Regions from separate parts of the Homo sapiens genome. Here region 2 is linked to region 1. The links are contacts of gene promoters, found by promoter capture Hi-C in blood cells and fetal thymus (Javierre and others, 2016). All regions are on one chromosome and are shown on one strand. Each heading gives the region's core, a stretch centred on a gene start or on the middle of the fragment in contact. The rest is flanking DNA. Distances are from core to core; before and after follow the strand shown.

Evidence for each region. The method cuts DNA at HindIII sites, captures the fragments that hold promoters and counts their contacts. A CHiCAGO score of 5 or more calls a contact.
Region 2: a contact is called between a fragment that was not itself captured here and the fragment with the promoter of KYNU in region 1, in 1 of 17 cell types (endothelial precursors). The highest score is 6.1, in endothelial precursors.

Annotation. Positions count from the first base shown.
Region 1 is chr2:142,874,585-142,880,397 of GRCh38, reverse strand. It overlaps KYNU (kynureninase), which reads right to left and starts at 2,734. Exons shown (of 14, transcript NM_003937.3): 1 at 2,662-2,734. The HindIII fragment of the contact is 4,288 bases long and covers 2,659-5,813 here.
Region 2 is chr2:142,208,237-142,214,049 of GRCh38, reverse strand. No RefSeq gene overlaps it. Among named protein-coding and RNA genes, the nearest start is that of LRP1B, 80 kb to the right of the region's middle. The HindIII fragment of the contact is 1,143 bases long and covers 2,436-3,578 here.

The DNA of each region.
Region 1 (5,813 bases), core at 1,485-3,984:
AAGGTGACAAGACAAGCCCATCTTGCAAGTCACTGAATCCTTCATGCAACATGCTATGTGCAAGTCTCCAGGGGACCCATCTTCTTGGCTATTCCTAAAATTCCATGAGATGTTTTTCTGCCTTACTATCAGATTAGTCTTACTACAAACATATTACTGATGGTAGCTGGACTGAGTTGCTGTTCTACCCTACTGAACTGAACTCTACCTGGGGGCCTGAATCATGTTTAATTTATCTTTATAGACATCTCATTTAGACAGAGTACCCCTGCCGCCAAAGTGGCAGTTCGAGAGAATAAACAAAATTGGTTGATGAATTATTTGACATAATGACATATTACTAGAAGGGCACCCTCTCTCATTCTGACCATATGAGAAAGACTTAGACAAACATTTCTAATGAAATTCAGAATCAAGAGAGCTTGCCTTATATTTGAGACTTTCTTTGGGAGGTCAGCCCTTTGAGTTGATTGGAGGTGACTTTAAACTCTAAGTGGGGTTACTTAAATAAAGAGATTAGTTTGTTACCAACAGATTCTGAATAAAATTCAACTTTCCTTATTTTAAAAATGATACTCATTAGCGTCATTCTATCTGTATCTTATTTAATGCTTGTAATAATCCTGAGGCATCAGAATCCTTTTCCTCTATATTGAGATGAAAACCTGGCACAGACAGAGTAGAAACCAGTGGACTAAAAGGATAGCAGAGTGCACAGTAGGGTACTTAACCATGCCTGAGATGCTGAGTCCATTGTGCTGGTCTTTGGCAAAGCCCATGAATGGAATGCACAGAGCTCAATTCCTCCTCGAAGCCTTGAACCTCTCACTTTATTTTTCCTTGCCTGTTGCTTCCTGATGTGTGTGTGTACGTGTGTGTATTTCTTCAGCTCATTCCCTTTTTCTTTGGCTTCTTTTTTCAGTCCTACACTTAAGCTGCAAAGGACCACAAGCTACGTATGAATTGATTTACCTTTTTAATCCATCCTTCCCAGTCCAGTTTCAGCCAGGCAAAAGTTAAAGTGGCTGGTTCCGCTCCTGGGCCTGTCACATCTGGGGTACCTTGAGATACCTGATGGGCATAGTCTTCCAAATGACTGCACCCTGCCCTACTCCACCACTTGCACAACTTCGCATGGTCTCAAATATAGTCTTTAGTTCCCAGAATAGCATAGTGCACTCACTCTAAGGATGCAATTTATTCACTCATACTAATTGCTGCTTAATTCTGCATTCACCCCAGCAGCTAAGACAATTAGTGTTCACAAGCCATAATGTTATGCCATGTTTAGTTTGCAAATAAAGTGACATGCTCATATTCTGAAAGGAAGAACTTAAATCCAAACTTTTAAAAACTTCAACTTTTACATATTTTACAAATTTTCAAATGTTACATATTTAGTGTTAATTTTATCAAGACGGGGGACATACATACCATATGGTCTCAGACAAATCACCTAACTGCTCTGTATGTCAATGTTATTTAAAGTTAAATTTTACTTTCTTCAAAGGATTATGGTTAAGCTCAAATGACATTAGGTCCTTTATAAAAAGATAAAAGATAGTTTGTAATATTTTTTTAAATTATCAATACCTTCTGATGGACAGCATCAATGTGCCTTCGATTTAGGTTTGGAAATTGTGCTTTCACAATTTTATTTAGACAGCTACAACTTTAAAGTAAAAAGCTTGTATAATAATTAAAAACTGATTGATTTTAACGAAATCACAGAATTCAGAATCTCCTAGTCACCCACTGATTTAGGGCTAAATAGTTAAATAAATGACTGAGTGTCTGGTAGTTAATCTTTACACAGTTTCACATTCATGCCTGAAATAAGCAAATTGTACATAGGAGTTCAAAGTTTAGAACCTGACTTAAAAATATGTTGAGAAAGCGTGTAGTTTTTCATTAGTAAAGAAAAAAGGAAAAACAATATGCATATTGAGCAAGATTCTTTAAGCATATCATTGAGAAATGGGTAACATTACTCTGCTACGAGTGTATATTTCATATCTAGGATATGAATTACTTGCTGAACACGTTAAGAAAATCAATACATTTGCTTCAGTGTTACTACTAAATAACACCCCACTGGCCTCAAAATAAAAGCAGAAAGGAAAAAAGAAAATCTAGTATATTTTTAAAAAGTGTATCAACTTTCTTTTCTTAGGTTTCATAAAATGAAAGGGGAAGAAACTCTGTTCAAGAGTAGGCATTTTCACTTCTCTAAATAAATATTTAATATGACTACTAGCAGCATAAGACAATTAAAGTTACCAGAAAACAGAGGACTTAAAATCTGTTTAAGAATATCTTTCCCTCGTCTGGAGTTTGACCTAATCTTACCGCTTAAACTCAAATAAGAACAGGACTAACTTTGGTTTGTCAAATGTAACCATATTCAGTGCACTATGTTCATCAGTTCTTTTCTATTACATTAGTAAAGATCTTTTCATTTAACCCATTTCTAAAGGTGGGGCCTTTAGGAAGGTCATACCATTTTTATTTACAAAAAGAATATATATAAAAAAAGAAGAGAGTAGCAGAAAAAAACCTCTAAAACACTATGACAAGGATTCTAGCTGACAGAAGTTTCATTTGGAAAAAACATGGAGTAAACATTAGGGTAGAGAGTTTTTATCAGCGCCTCAAGCTTACCAGCTAGGATCCCAATGGAGTGTTTGGCTCCCAGAATCTCTCCAAGAACCTCTCAAGAATTCCTTGAAAATGTACAGGCCAGATCTTAGGGTGAGAAATTCAAAGAACTGCTCAGACTCCACCCAGTGGAGAATTTATAAATATTTTACTTTACTTCCTCTCCCCTAACCAATCGGTAATCTCCAGCCACTGTCAGAAATTTAAGCAACATGTGCTCCTGCCCACCATTTCAAATGCCAGAGCCTCCAGTGAGGGCTTCTTTCCAGAGGCAACTTTGCTCTTTAAACTCAGGTAAACACACACTTGTCCTTTAACTATATAAATCTCTGACCCCTGAACTGATGAGTTGGTCTTAGAGCTAAATTCCAAATTTTGCCTTTCTTCTTCACTTTGAGCTCTGGATTTTTGAGACAATACCCTCCTTCAAATACACTGAGGATTTTCAGTCTGATGGTTGAATCTATGACATTTAATGGGTAAACTTTTTAGTCAAAAGTTTAAAATAGGCTCTCAATTCCAGAATACACTCTATTGCCTAATATGTGAGTTTTCAAAAACTCCTAGGTAATAAATCTGGACAGTTAACAAGACAATGAAGGAAGAAAGATCTGAAGATTCAAGTGGAAACTAGCCTGGCAAACTTCATTAATGCAAATTATTCATTTAAGTCTGTGAATTGTCTTTTGTTCTAGTCTGACTACCTCTTTAGGCTTATTCCTGAGCTTGGGTCTTTTGATGAATATCCTTGTAGTTATAAAAACTAAGAGCAAAGACTTTCGATATTAGGACTAGGGATGAAGAATGTGCTTGAATAATTGAATGACTTATGCACACCTATGCTTTATTTAGTAACCCACAACAAATCAAGTAAAGTGTCATTTAATCATTTCTATCAAGTGTTCATTGTATAACCCTGAGCAATTCACTTAACCCTTGTGGAGGCTCAGTCTCCTATTTATCAAATGAACTTAATAATACCTTCCTCCCAAGATTACTGAAACGATAAAACCATGCAGGTTGAAGGCCATAGATACCATGACACTCAAGTCAAAAGTGACATATTGTCTTTTTTTTAATCTTAAGTAACCAGACAAAAAGTACTACTCTCCAGTTTCCAAGAGAGGGAGATAAAGTGCATGAAATTGCTTTAATACGAGTAATTGACCAGTGAAAATAAAATATATTTCACTTCATTGATCCTATCCTTACAATAATCCTATAAAGTAAGTAGACTACCAATTGATTAACTTAGAATAGTAAAAGTTTGAATCCATTCAGGAAATTTCAGAAGGTGTACTTTTTTTGCATCTATTCTGTGTATGCCTCATGCTGTAAAAACTTTGGAAGATTACCAGGCTCTAATATATGGGGAGCGAACCAGAGGGCGGATCTGTGTCATTTTTGTGTCACTCTTTTAAAGACTGACTATAGATTTAGAGAGCTAGATATGGACATTAAGGTTTTGTTTTCACAAGATCTTGCTTCTTCTAAAATCTTGTAATAATATGATTAAAAATTTCATCAAAATATTATCTTAAAAACTACTGTTTAACTTGTCACCTTTAAAGAACTTGCTTGGAGGTCTAAGCTATACTTCTATTTCTTATGTTTTATAAATTTCTTTCTTTCTTTAAATTTGTTACATTTGAGGAATAAAAATAAAATCCCAAGCCCCTAGATTAACTGAACGGACACGCTCTTGGCCAAGGGGATCCCAGAGTAAACTTGAAAACTAAGTTTTTGGCCATGACAGGATAGGAAGTGGAACACATACCCGCTCCATCACTAACTATGATTAGGCTTTCTGCCCTATGGCTAAAAAGAAACCAGTCATTTCAAAAGATTACACCAATGACATCAACCATCACCTGGTGTTATCCCTCTCTTTTGTGGTTTGGAACAAAAAGAAAATACTGATCATGGAATGTTTCTGGCTAGTCTATGGAGAATGTGCAGTAAAGGTTTTCATGTCCTCTGCTTCACATTGGGCTGAAAACTGCCCCCTCAGATTGTATTAATGCTGTCATTTTTTGAACACGGATCCCATGGAGAAGCATGAAACTCCATTGTGCATGTGCACATTTCTCCTTTCACAAATATTCATGGCTTCCCCTATAGCTTATTGAATATATATATTCAGCTACCCTGCTCAACATAAATTTCTGTTTCCTTTGCTCCTCCCTCAAAATGTCTGTTTCCAGCTTCTGATTAGAGGCTATACTTTTCAGAGGTCAGAATGATCACCCTGCAGGCTGCAATCCTTTATGTGAAATGAAGCTCTCCTTTCCAAATGTATGAACCTGTCATTCTTCAGTTGACACTTTCATTCATTCAAGAAAAGTATTAAGCATATTCTCTGTACCAAGCACAAAGTGAAATGCCAGGGATGTAATGGGGAGCAAAACTTGTATAATAACATAGGCCGCTAAATACAGAAGGGAATTATGAGAGAACGAGTCATGCGGGGAGGGGTGAAAGCAAGACCCGCTACAGGGCCAGCAGTCAAGGTTAAACAGAGAACACTGTGAGATACCATTCCTTCCTTTTGGAAACAGGAAGAAAAAAAGTGTTGCCAGAATAAGCTGTTGTACAATTCCGAGTTGTCTATTAATTTCCAGGTATGGCATCCTGCTTATAAAATGATATGTTTCCGAGAGGAAAAGACTAATTTTATCCTCCTCAGAGCTCTACCTATGTATGGAGCTAAATAAATATCTACTGAATTGGTTAATTTGTTTTTTTTTAATTAAGATCTAGTTTATTTTCTAAAAATTGATTATTGGAAATATGGGAAAGTTTTGTCCTCTCAAAAGGTAATCTTGAACCATGAACTTTATTCTTATTCTTCAGGGCATTTTCGCCATAGTTAGGCCAGTATCTAGCATTTAGTAGACTAAAATGGGTGCTTGCTGGATCATTAACTAAATTAAATTCAGATCAGCAAACTCTTTATGTAAGAATCCAAGGCTGCACTACCAGGCTGATCATAACACTCTAATGCTGGGTGCTCAGTATGTGAAATGAGTAATGAGATTAAAGACAGAGACAAGTTAGGAAAGAACTAATAAAAAAAACTGCAGTCTCAAACTTGGGTAAACAGAAAATTTCACAATACGCTATTTTTCTTAATTAAATAAAAACGCAGAGCTCAC
Region 2 (5,813 bases), core at 1,758-4,257, 670 kb after region 1:
TTTGTTCCGCAAAATACTTCATTAAAAGGAAGAAAAGACAAGTTACAGACTTAGAGAAAATATTTCAAACTACATGTCTGACAGATGATTGTATCTAACATATATAACCAACTCTCAAAACTCATCAGTAGTAAAAACAATTCGATTTAAAAATGGAAAAATGACAAAGATATATTTCACTAAAGAGAAGATATGGATGGCAAATAAACACACAAAAATATAGTAAACATCTTAGCTGTTAGGAAAATGCAAATTAAAAATATGAGATTAGATGCCCTTCAATGCGTGAATGGTTAAACAAACAGTGGCACATACATACAGCTTAGCAATAACAATGAACACACAAACAAACATAAATAACAAATAGAATGTGATATATACCACAGTCTGAATGAATCTTCATAGAATTATGCTTACTGAAGAAAAACAAGCTCAAAGGTTTGCATGTTGTATAACTTCTATTTATATATTATGCTTACTGAAGAAAAACAAGCTCAGAGGTTTGCATATTGTATAACTTCTATTTATATAACACTCTTGATGTGTCAAAATCACAGAAATAGAGAGTGGATTAATGATTCTCAAAGATGAAGGAAAGGATGGGGACTGTGGGAATTGGGCATGGTTATAAAAGAGCCACATGAGTGTCTTTGTGCTGATGGAAATATTCCGTATCTTGACTGTATTAGCGTCCATATTCTGAGTGTGATATTGCACTATAGTTTTATAAGTCATTACCAATGGTGAAAAATAGGGAAAGAGTACACAGATCTTTCTGTATTATTTCTTACAACAACATGTGAATCTATAATTTTTGCAAAATGAATGTTAGTTTAAAATATTCCAAGTTTTAATTTTGAATATATATTTGTGGTAATAACTCACATATAAAACTTTTTTGGAGCACTCAACAATGTTTAAGGGTAAATGGGTCTCGAGAACAAAATTCTTGAAAACTTCTAGGTGATTCAGCACATTACAATTGCTGGTACAAAATGTAAAATAACATATGTTGAATGAATATATAATTTTCAAATGGCTATATGTAATCAAAAAATGGTATACATTACCTAAGAATATGTTTTAGTTAAATGTCAGGAGTGCCTGATGTTTGACTGCTTAGGTTTCTATTACTTGCTGGAATTTTAGTTAACTTCAGCATTAAAGTTCTTAGCTTGGAAGTTAAGAAAGTTGATGTTGTCACTTCATCTAATGGATAGATGATACAATGATAGGAAAACAAAACTTTTAGCAACTTCTAAGGACATCTTTCTTTTCTTTTCTGATATCAAAATGTATGACTCAAGATGATGTCTCTGTCATGCTGATGTAAAAAGCAAGCCCCAAATTTCAGTGGCTTAGCCAATAAAGGCATATCTATTATCCTTATACAGAGAAACAGACCTGCAGATCCTACGCTATCTGGAAAGTTGTTAGTCTACCACCCGAGGAAGGGGACACAACAACCTATGCACCATTTCTTGAAATCTCTGTCCAGAAGTGACACATAACTTCTGCTCACATATCATTTGCCAAGACAAGTCACAAGGAAAACACGTGCTACAAAGTGCCCTGAAAAAGAGGATCAGAAATTTGATAAACTGAACCAATATATATTTTCCACATAGCATTTCAGATATATTAAATCGGCAACCATCAGATTACTGATAAATGTGGAGAACAAAACAATCTGATATGCATTAGGAATTTTCAGTAGACAATGATAGGGCTGACAGAATTCTCTTTGTTTTGTGGAAAATTTAACACTGGAATACAGAGTTCAATAAATACTGAAAAGGGATTTTCCAAACTGCTATTGTATACATGCTATTTGACCACCCTACATACATTATAACAATTAAGCTTTGGGATGTCCACTGATGATAAATGAAATCAGGACAAGAGACAAGCATGCAGCATTTCTCATTTACCTGAAGTTGATTATTTTAGCTTTTGTTTCACAAGGTGTTTTCTGTACTCTCTGGAGTACCCAACATCTATGCTGGACAGACAATCTTGGAGGGTCTTTTCTAGACTGTGTTTCCTGGAATAGTAGTCCAAATTCCTCAATCTACTCAAGTACACTTGGAAAATAATGCATACTCTACACTCCACATGAATAGTCACAATGCACATTAACATATTAAAATCTCTGAGAATTTCTGTAAAAAATAACCTGTTGGACACATAAAATGTAACAATGTCTACCTAGGTATTAAGTTTATATTAATTTCTTTTAACCCCTAAAACACGAGATGGGTATATAATTATCCTTATTTTATCAATCCCTTTGTCTTATAAAACTTCTTAAATTCTACAAATTTATACTGGGGAATTTCTATTTTTCTTTGAGAGGTGTTCTTTAAACATAAGAGAAATTGAGGGTCACCTATGAATTAAGATGGAGCTATAGTTGGCAGAGTAAATATTAAGCTTATGTAGTAGAACTTAAAATAGACTATGGTGTCCTGAGAAACCTAAAATTTATGGTCTGATATTTTAAAATAAACTTATTTCCCATTCCTCTTGGTCAGAATTGCCCCTGCATTTTAAAAGGCATAACAATTAGGGTTATACCTTGGACAGAAAATATTATTTTAAGAGACTAGAAAGTGAACCCGAATTGGGGGAAGGTTCTCTAGTTTATGCGTTTTAGCAGATAGGTCATTGTTAATTTGAGGAAACTGTAATGTTGGGCTTAAGTGTATGAGGTACAAACAGTAAACATCAACTGCACAGAGGCAAAGTAACAGCACTCTGGAAGGTAGTAAGTGATGAGACATTTTAGCGTAATATCTGGATCTAAAATTATGGAAAACGAGAGAGTAAAGACCAGTATGTCTAAACAATGGTTTTCAAACGTTGGTGAGTCTCAGAGGTACCTAGTTAAATATATTGAATTTGCCGCCTCTCGCACTCTTTCCCAACACACTCTTCATGTCAATTTCATATGTTTAGGGTAGAGTCCAAACTTCAGGATTTTTAGTTAGCTATCTGTTCTCTACACTTTTAGAATCATTACTTTTTAATGCCACCATATTGTCATGAAAGAAGAGTCATACCACAGAGACCACAGAAGACAAATTTTATAATTGTGTTTTACATCTGAGAATGAATGGGGTGAAGCTCCCCACTCTCCTTTGAACTACAGGGTCTTTGCTTCTAGTTTAAGAGTCCTTTTCAGGTGAATTTTCTCAGGCTTTTCCAGGGGCCCAAAGCTATTTTGAATTCAAAGTCTCATTTTAAATGTCTTGCTTTCATTCACTTTCTGATAAAAGAATATCTATCAACATATATTAATTTGTTCAATATCAGTAGGAGCTTTAAAGCAATAATGTATAACTAGCAGATTTTCTTTGACAGTGCATGGCAAATTATATTTTCTATTCCACAAATACCATGAATATTCAATGAGCAAGGGAAGGGAAACTGTAATCTTCTTCAGGAAAAAAAAAAGGTATAAAAAAGTAAAAAACAAAACTTTCAATATCACATTAAGGGTTAAATGAAAGCTACATTCAGTTATTGAAGTCTACCGTTTAACCCATTACATTATGACTTCCCAATTAAAATAAGCTTGAGGAAGCATTTATAATTGTAGCATATTTACATGTATTTTCATGTGGGTCAAAAAGCTTACACACTTCAAATATTTATTCATTGGAATATCATTTGATGAGAGAATTCATAATAGAAATTTTTTGTATAGTTTAAAGTTATGAAACCCACGTAATATATATGTGAAATTTTATAAGCAGAATTGAATTACTATTAATAAAAATTAATTTTCAAATTAGAATTAATAACTAAGAATTCAAAGTATATATATCCCATAAAAGTAATTAATGGCAAATATGTAAAAAAGCTAAATATATGTCTTGACATTTTACTTATATAGGAGACAGATATTTCATTTTTAGTGCAAGGATTGATTTTTAATTCTCAGAAAGGATTGTATTCTCATTTCATGTTTATTTCAAGCCCTGGGTTTTGTGAACTTGGTTTTCTTTTTTTATAGTACCAGTCTCCTGAGATGCTCCCAGAGAGGAAAGCAATCATCAGTCAATATTTAGACTTGGGCATTCTTCTGATTAATGGAAGGCCAGGCCATGGTCTCCTAAGGCACCTTGTGCAATTTCACAGGTTTATTCATAGCTAGACAACCAAAATCTTCATAAGTAATTGAAACTCCGATTTTGGCAACTTTCACTATATTTGCTTGTCAACTGTGATGCAGGCATAAATGCCATGCTACCATTAAGTACTTTAATCCATTTTAATAATCCTTTGATATATTCTTTTCTAACATGAGGTAAAATATTGTCAATGATAGTCAAGAAAAGGTACGTATTCTGTGTTATTTTTCACTTTATAAAAGTAGAATAATTGGATTACAGTTTAGACTACATTGGCTAAGTATTATTTTAATGACTTGAAGACATATGCAGGTGAAAATGTTGCTATAGAAATAGATTATAACTTACCATAGACATAGATCATTTGTTTTCCTGGGATAAACAATGATATGATTCATCAATCGGAGACAAGCCAAGAGAGAAAAAATATTCTAACAAAAGTTACGATTATGGTGGTATGGCAAACTCAAGAAGATTCAATATGTTGCCCCCTAACCTATATCTATTTAGAGAGCCACCATTGCAAGCTTAATATTATTACAGAGTGTTTTGAACATCAACTACTTAGAATAACTGATACAACATTCCCTTATGACCTCCTAAACACATAGTCACCAAAAACTCTTTATACACTCAGTATTACTGAATGTTGGAAACTTAAGCAGCTATACATTAAATCCTCCGTGACAAAATCAAGTCAGTCTTTCTCCTACTCTAATTTTGTTCTCCAGTGCTGTTAGTGATCCTTGTTTCATAAACCTGAAAATAAATCCTGGGATGCTCTATATTTACCTGTATTGCTGCTGTAATGTTTTTTGTCTGTTTGTTCCATATGGAATTGATTTTTGGCTATTTGCATTCAGATGTCTCTGGCTCCAATTTTTGGTTTTCAAGAACTCCGAGTGTTGTCCTTTATACACGCATGAAGTTACTTGCACATGGTCTGTGCTGCTGGACCATGCTCTTTTGAATCTTTGTCCAACATGCCTGTCTAGACATTCCTATTCCCTTTCTGTGGTATTGGTATCTGCTGACAAAAGTCTTAAATATCCTGTTAAGATTTCTTCCCTTCAGTTTTTAAATCATTTTTAATTTCACCATAGGTGGTGCTATGGGCCGAATTGTGTTCATCAAAATTTGTATGCTGATGCCCTAGCACCTAGTACTACAGAATGGACTGTATTTGGAGGTAGGGGTTTTTAAAGCAGTAATTAGGTTAAAATGAGATTATTAAGGAAGGCTCTATTTCAGCGTAACTGTACCTATTTTCAGTACAACTCCTTAAAGAAAAGATGAGGACACAGACACACACAGAGCGAAGACCATGTGAAGACATAAGGAGGAGAAGACAGCCATATGCAAACCAAAGAAAGAGGCCTCAGAAGATACCAACCCTGTGGACATGTTGATCTATGACTTTTTGCCTCCAAAACTATGAGGAAATATATGTCTATTGTTTATTTCACTCAGACTGTGGTATTTTCCTATGGCGGCCCTAACAAACTAATACGGGTGAGTTCACCTTGTTAAATATGGAGGATTAAGAACACACATTGATCTCTGCTCCACCCCTACCTTCCATTAAACTCAAACATCAGATTAAATGGATAAATTATGTTCATTCAAGGACAAGAAGAGTGAGAAAGGGAATAACAGCTGATGAAAGACAACGATTAC